Regions from separate parts of the Homo sapiens genome. Here region 1 is linked to region 2. The links are contacts of gene promoters, found by promoter capture Hi-C in human tissues and cell types (Jung and others, 2019). All regions are on one chromosome and are shown on one strand. The core of a region is centred on a gene start or on the middle of the fragment in contact, and the rest is flanking DNA. Distances in the headings are between cores, read along the strand shown.

Region 1 (3,835 bases), core at 941-3,440, 82 kb before region 2:
GGAGTCTGTATTAAATTCACCTCTCACTAAAGACCTGCTTATTTCCCAAAATATAACCTTAGTCATTTGGAATATGCCATTCTACTCATTACAGCAACACACATATATGAGCAATATAAATGTGTTCATCTATATGTAACTATTGTTTATAGTTGTCATACAAATCAATTTACCCCATAATAGAAGATAAGTTTGCTTTTTCTAGTTTGTGTATATTGTGCTTATTTTTGTTCTTTTTAATAATCTTAGAATGGAAGTTTTACTACAAGTCTTGCATGAAGTATTCAATAAAATTTGCTGCATAAATTTATACTATTGAATTAGATTTTTATATACTTGATAAGATATTTCAGAGATCTTCAAATTCCAGCATCTACAAATGTACATAATATTTTATAGACTGCTTTGGGATTCCATGATTACAAGCCATAATTTATATTAGTCTTTCAACAATTATTTATTAAGTGCCATACCATTATCCTGATTCTAATCCTATGGGCATTAGAAACTCAGGTGCAACACAGACACAATCTGTTTCATCATAACACTCATATTCTGGCAGGTAAAATAGTAAAGAAGTAAACAAATAGAAAAACTCCGAATGAAAAAGTGCTACAAAAGAAATAAGCATATTTACATGATAATGAGTAATAAGGGGTAAAACAATTACTTTAGGATATTTGATTAAGGAAAGCCTCCCCAGGAAGTTGATATTTGAGTTCAGACATGTAAAATGAGAGAAGCCAGTCAGCAAAAGAATTAGGGAAAGAGAAAAAATTAAAGCGAACAAAAGGTGAAAGGACTTTAAGAGATATGTTATTTTGAGAGTTAAAAAAGAAGTTATTGGAGGCATGAATTATAACAGAAGGTACTAGAGAGTTGGTTAAGGGTCCACTCTTGCAGAGCTTTGCAAACAATGTTACAGAACTTGATTTTATGCTAAATTCAGTGGAAAACTCAAAATCAGTGACGTAGAGATTATTTGATTTACATATTTTTAAAATCATTCTGTTTCTGTGTGCAGTGTGAATGGTAGGAGGGCCAGAATAGAGGGAAGAAGGGTAGCTATAGTCCTGGGCATTTAGAAACTTCCAAGTAGCTTTTTTATTATTTAACTCTGTAAATGATGGTGCACTGAACAGCCATGTACATATGTATTTGTGCAAATAATGTGATGTTTCTTCAGGATAGATTTATATAAGTCTTAGGTCACAGGGCCTCTGTTTTTTGAAGTTAAAATATCGATCACTTCTCCTTTTGTTATTATTAATATTTGCATAAAAATCCTTTCTATTTTTGTATTGTATTTTTGCACATTTATTTGAATGTTTGGTTTCAGAAAAATTGAAACAAAACTAAGTATATCTTCAATAGAATAAAGTTTTCTATAGGCAGAACAGTAAACAAAATCATTTTCAGAGAATAAATTGTAAATTTAAAACATATTATAATCACTTGACCTTCTTTTTGATACATTTAAATACAATATCTGGCTTAGCTCATCTGTTATGTCATAGGCAAATAAATCTAAAGATATGAATTAAATATTGCCATGAACATATTCATAAGGAGGACATTCAGGCAATAGGGTCTCTTTGAAGTAAGTAATCAGATGATTCTTTTGATATATATGGAGTACAATCAAAAAAAGAAGAGTTGTCTTTAATCTTTCCTGCTGTATAAATAGCAATATAAAATTAGCACACTGGAAACTTAGACATCACTAACATAACCCTCAACTATAAACACTTGACAGAGTGTTAGAATTTTATTCTAATTACTTTTTCAATGAGCAACATTATTAGAAAAGTATTTCCATTAATATTTCATCTTGAAGATCAAAACAGAAATTGTATTCACATAACACTTTCCCATAAGTGTTTTTTATTTACATGACATCCATTATATTCTCTCCAAATAAGCAGATTTACTGCCATCAGCATGCTAGTGCTGCAAATAAATTTCAATAGAGTATATAGGAACAGGAAATAAGATCCCTGGAACTTGGCCATAGTTTGATTTGGTCTCTTGTTAGAAGTAACATTAATTTGAAAGAATAGATTGATTGCTGACTTGGGAGAAATATTGTACAGAGAAAAGTATGTGGGCAGTAATGTAGCATCAAATTTTGCTGAGTGTTCACTAAAACTAAAACTGTGTATACAAACATGTAGAATTTATTGCTTAATAATAGCAATTTTGCTCCATTCTTATACTGCTTTCAAATTATCTAAAGTCATTTGTATATGTTGTAAATGAAAAGCTTTTGAATTATTCTCTGTGTTTTACCGAGTAAATTAAACATACATGTAAGTTAAATTCCACAAGTTATCTCACTATTTTATAGGTAGTATATACAGTATTTTATAGGTAGTATGTAGTAGCCACTATACTGTATATATTTCAGAAAATAAAATATTCTCAGAAAAGAATCTGACACCTTAGGAGGCTTTGTATAAATTTAATTAATTGATTTATTTTTAATTTTAGAGAGGGTCTCTCTGTCACCCAGGCTGGAGTGCAGTGGTGCGATCTCAGCTCACTGCAACCTCCGCCTCCCAGGTTCAAGCGATTCAGTTGCTTGCCTCAGCCACCGGAGTAGTTGAAATTACAGGTGTGTGCCACACCACGCCCAGCTAATTCTTTTTTATTTTTAGTAGAGACAGGGTTCCACCATGTTGGCCAGGCTGATCTCAAATTCCTGTGATCTGCCCCCTTGGCCTCTCAAAGTGCTGGGATTAAAGGCATGAGCCAATGTGCCTGGCCTATTCTAATTTTTTAAATTGGAACGTTTGAAAGTTTCATTTAATAACAAACAACTAATTACTACAAATATACTCTTTAATCTACTACTTTGATTAAAATATATTATTGAAGGCAAAACAATGGTCTACCAAATGTGTTCATGTCCTGATATCTGAAACTTGTGAAATAGTTAAATTCTATGGCAAGAGGAATTAAGGTAACAGATGGAATTACATTGCTAATTAGGTGACTTTAAAACAGGGAGATTACCCTGGATTATCTGGTCATTCCAATCTAACCACAGGGGTCCTTACATGTGGAAGATGGAGCAGAAGCATGATGTCAGAGTGATGCCTATGTTATCAGAAAGACTCCACCAGCCTTTGGAAAGACTCTACTTGCCATTGTTGGTTTTGGAGAAGGAGGATGGCTAGGAACTAAAGAATGCTACCAACTGGAAAAGGCAAGAGAGTGGATTCCAGAAAATAATGCAACCCTGCCAACACCTTGATTTTAGTCCAGTGAGGCCCATTTATGATTTCTGACCCCTCCAGAAACATAAAATTTAAAAAATTCCATTATTTTAAGCCTCAAGTGGGGGTTATTTTTTACAGCAGCAATAAGAAACTCATACATACATGGAAATACGTGGTGAATAATTTTAAGGGGATGACTTTGATATTTCTTTGATATTGGTAAGATATACAAACAAAATTAATAAAGCAGTACCTCATTAGATATATCCTAAAAGGGAAGTACACATTCTGTGGGTGAGAAGCAATGAATAGTCTTAATATGTCATGAATCCAACCATAAATTAACACCAATTTTTATACAGCCTGTCTTAGTCCATTTTTGTCATAAAGGAATACTTAAGGTTGGATAACTTATGAAGAAAATAATTTTATTTGGTTTATGGTTCACCAGACTGTTCAGGAAGCATGGCATGGGCATCTGCTTAGCTTCTGGTGAGGGGCTCAAGCTGCTTTCACTCATGGCAAATACCTAAGGGGGCCAGCATGCAGAGATCACATGGCTAGTGAGGAAGTAAGAGAGAGAGGGAAGGAGGTAGGTGCCAGGCCATTTTTAA
Region 2 (4,037 bases), core at 1,254-3,753:
ATCATTAGAGCTGGACAACAGCCTGAGGAGAGAAAGAAAAAAGTGTTATACCAACATGCCCTTAGTGAATTTTTTTTCTCTTGCAAATGTTGATGGCTATAAAGACTATATAGATAGTTGAGAACAAACATATTTTGTCTTGCAATATGCCACTTGACTACCTCTCTTCTGAAATTTTATACTACTGATTTCTAGAATACTGATTTTCTAAAATGAAGTTTATCTTACCAATAACATTTTAGTATTATACATTTCAGATGATTTTTCAGTCATCCTGTTTTCATCAGGAATGCATTTTGTGCCAATTAGCTTATTCTTTGTCATTAAATTTAGAGGATAATAAATTGCAGTAGGATAATAACAATAGACAAGAAAGTTTAATTTAAATGTTTTACCAGTAAAATATATTTTATAATTAAAAATGCAATGATTTTTCTGAGAGCAAATCTCCCTTAATTTTGTGCATCAAAAATGGTCAGCTTACTCTTGAAAACCAAGTTCACACAATTTGCAAAACATGTTATTCTCTACACTTAATGACATATGATGTAAGCACAATCAAGAGCCGTTTGGCTTCTTCCCTACTGCTACACCAATCCACTCTTCACATTGTGAGCGTGCACAGGCTGGGGGTGCTAGAGACTCATGGAAAACCAGAGGGCTTTATGAATTTGTAGTACCACCACAATATGCCATTGTGGATACTACTAATTTGTATCTGGTGCAATAATTGGAACCGAGATGCACATTTAATAAGTGGTTTCTATAGCTTTAATATACCTGCGAAATGTGAAAAATAACCATTCTTAATTTTGGAACTGAAATTGTATTTCAGAACATGGCCAAGACATACTAAAAGCATAGACATGAGCCCACTACCTAAAACTCTTTTCTTTATTTTCAGAAAGGAAAGACAGTTAGTAGGAAATAAGGGAAATACTTAAATACCACTTTTGGAAACAAACAGGGATTTAACTGCTTTATCTGTCTTTGAGTTTTTAATGCAGGATATAAAGGACCTTAAAGCGTTCATATTGTCTCCTTAAAACCCTCTACTTCAATTTCACCCTTACAAGCTACTACTCTCCTAGGGAAGAGGAAAAAAAAATTTCCACTGACCCAGCTCGTGATTTACATACAGAGAGCAAATAAATGAATGGAGTGGGGGATGGGGCAGTGAGAAGCAATCTGTTTCTTTTTCAACCGCAGAAAATAAGATTACTTACCAAGAACATTTTTATCCAGGGCAAATGTTTATTCCCTCTATCATTCAGCGCCTCAGTCTCTGCAAGAAATCAATTTCCACTCTACCTTTCCCTCCTATTTCTAAAAAAGAGAGTGAGGCGGATAATTCTTAAGCTTCGGGGTCCGGAGGAAGATAGAGCTAGAGCGGAGGGCAAAAGACTCCCACAGCGCTCTTTATACAGATCCCAGCTCTGAGAGCGAACCCATGGGGAGGGGGCGGGGGATCATCTCTAAGGAGAGTACTCCGAGTAGGGAGGGGGATTCATTCTGCAGCCAAAATATAAATCATCTACAAACAGATTACTAGCCTCTCAGTCACACAGGCAGTTCCCTTGGGAAACCGGTTTCAAAGAGGAAGAAGTTCCTGGAGAGAGAGAGAGAGAGAGAGAGAGGGAGGGAGAGAGAGAGAGAGAGAGAGACTGGGGTTTGGACTTGCAGAGGGAATGGGGCCAAGGAGAGGAATAGGGAGAAGGAATAAAGCTAATCTTACCGATCGATCAGGCGATCGTTTGTTCAGTATTGGGACACGAAAATGGCAAGATAATGCATTCGGCAGCAAAGCCATTTCTGGCACACTCTCTCTCAGTTACTGCAGGAATCAGAGGGGAAGCGGGCGCCTCGAAACCTACCACTTGCTCCCCAGGGACCGTCCTCAGAACCTCCAAAGCTCTAGCTTCTAATGCAAGGCGTTCGGAGCTGAGGGTTCAGGTGGAAGTCAATTGTCTTGAGTCACAGGCAGCAGGAACGCCAAAGAAGTGGGACCTGGGAGGGCTGCTGCCGCCGCTGCTGCATCTAACCACGGTTCCCCGTCCCCTTGCCTAAGCCTCACCGGCACAGCGCCCCCGAAAGCGCCTAGCGACTCGGCCTCCTCCGCATCTTCAGCCCTTCGATCACCGCCCGCACCCCCCACCCCCCACCGCCTCGTGCAAATCGCTGATGATTTGGTCATCGTAATGTGACCGGTCGTAGTGGTTTATTTGGGGAGTGGGGGAATTGGTTGTGTTGGGCTTCCTTACTACGCCTCCCTCAGTTGCTGCAAGTGAAAATGTTCAAGGGAAATACTAGTGAAATGCACTGATGGAATACTATTAATCCTAATGATAATGGTCCCAACGCAGGTAACTCTTAAAGAACTGAGAGTGGGAAGATCAGAGCAGGATTTCCGAAGTGGTGCCCTCTTGAATTCTCATTGGATCCTCCCCAGCAGCCTAAATCATTCTTGCTGCTATATCTATCAGGATGACTACAGCCTTGCTCACTAGTTCTCTCTTTATCTCGTTGTCTTCAACACATCCTTTTACTTCTCTTTGCAGATTTATCTGTATTCCACCTCCTGTTCTCTGGGGTTACACAGCTTCTGCCTTTCCCCACTGTATGGGGATGTGCAGCCTGTAAATTTTCACTTTGCTTAAGGATCACCACGAATCACCCCCCACCATTCCCCACCCCCCCATATAAAGCATTTTCACATTCTGCTTTCTTGCCTTGGGGGTTCGTGGCTCTCTGTGTAACTGGTTTTTACTTGGTTACATGCCACCAGGAACTGCTGATTATTTTAAAGTCCTACTACCCTGCAGCTCACTACTTTACCTTGATTTGGAAGATCATGGAATATCTATTTGAATCCTGGATGTATTTTTCTCACAGTCTTCTTGCTTCCTGAAATTTCCTCTGGTAAGTTATTCTCTTTATCTGTTACTAGAAACTTAACTATTGCTATTTTTAATAAGCTCTGTTTTGTTGAAGTATTTCATTTTTCACATTTTTGTTACTTTCAGAACTGAAAGATCCATATGGCCATATTTATTAATTAGTATGTTAGTGGCAACTGCACTGCTAAGACATAACCCATGTAATGTATTACCCCAATATCCCATGTATTACCCCAATATCTTTTACCTTCTTTATTTTTAAAATATTTGTCCTCATTTATATTATGGGTTACACGGACATTAATCGCCCCCACCCCCATTAACCCTTCTTGGCACACATTCCTGTGCCATTTGAAATGTCACATTTTATAGGTTTATCTAAGAGAGAGCTTAAAAGAGACCTTCTGACAATTGCAAGGTCTGGAAAGTTCGCTAGTCGGATATTCAGAAGGTTGTTCAGGTCAGCATTTGTTCATGATAAGCAATTACATGACTGAAGGAAGACTTTGTTGCAAAGTGTATTTTTATGAATTTAGCAAGACCTTAAGCACTAAAATGCCACTGAATGGTAGGAAGAGGACTGTGAGTTTTGAGGGCACCATTTTTTTTTCTTAAAATATTTCAAATCACACATAAGCACGTTATTTTAGGCATTGTATTTTAATTCAGGCATAGTATTTGTCAGTACATTTCTGATTTTGTGAATTAGCTGGTGAACAGTTAATTGGACACAGAGTACTCATTTCAGAGAGGAGCAATCAGAAGAAACCCCTGATTATCTTGGTTCTGATAAATTGAAATTCAAGAATAGACTTTACATGAAAAATTTAATTGCCTCACTCTTCATACTTGTCTGCCCCCAACCCTTGTGTTTAATAGGCATGTTAATATGGTCAGTGCCTTTTGCTTTTATGAACATTTCTATGGACTTAACTGACAAGATTATCACCTCCTCTTCCGTATAGTTGTGTTGAGAAACATTTTAATCTTTACTTTTACTTCACAATTGACACATAATGAGGAAAGCACGATATTCATTAAATGCCAAACCTGCATGTATCGGTAATTTTTAACACCCACTGAGGGTTTTCTCTGAACATCCGCCCCCCGCCCTCAAATTAAGGACAAGTTCCTGGTCTC

What was found. Contacts are between HindIII fragments. The study calls those that stand out against the background at their distance.
Region 1: a fragment that was not itself captured here is called in contact with the fragment with the promoter of BRINP3 in region 2 in 2 of the 25 tissues and cell types used here (H1 embryonic stem cells and heart left ventricle).

What each region holds. Positions count from the first base shown.
Region 1 is chr1:190,558,650-190,562,484 of GRCh38, reverse strand. No RefSeq gene overlaps it. Among named protein-coding and RNA genes, the nearest start is that of LINC01720, 64 kb to the left of the region's middle. The HindIII fragment of the contact is 9,959 bases long and covers 1-3,835 here.
Region 2 is chr1:190,476,330-190,480,366 of GRCh38, reverse strand. BRINP3 (BMP/retinoic acid inducible neural specific 3) reads left to right here and starts at 2,503. Exons shown (of 8, transcript NM_199051.3): 1 at 2,503-2,919. BRINP3-DT (BRINP3 divergent transcript) reads right to left here and starts at 2,107. Exons shown (of 3, transcript NR_110716.1): 1 at 1,875-2,107; 2 at 1,227-1,285; 3 at 1-22. The HindIII fragment of the contact is 15,526 bases long and covers 1-4,037 here.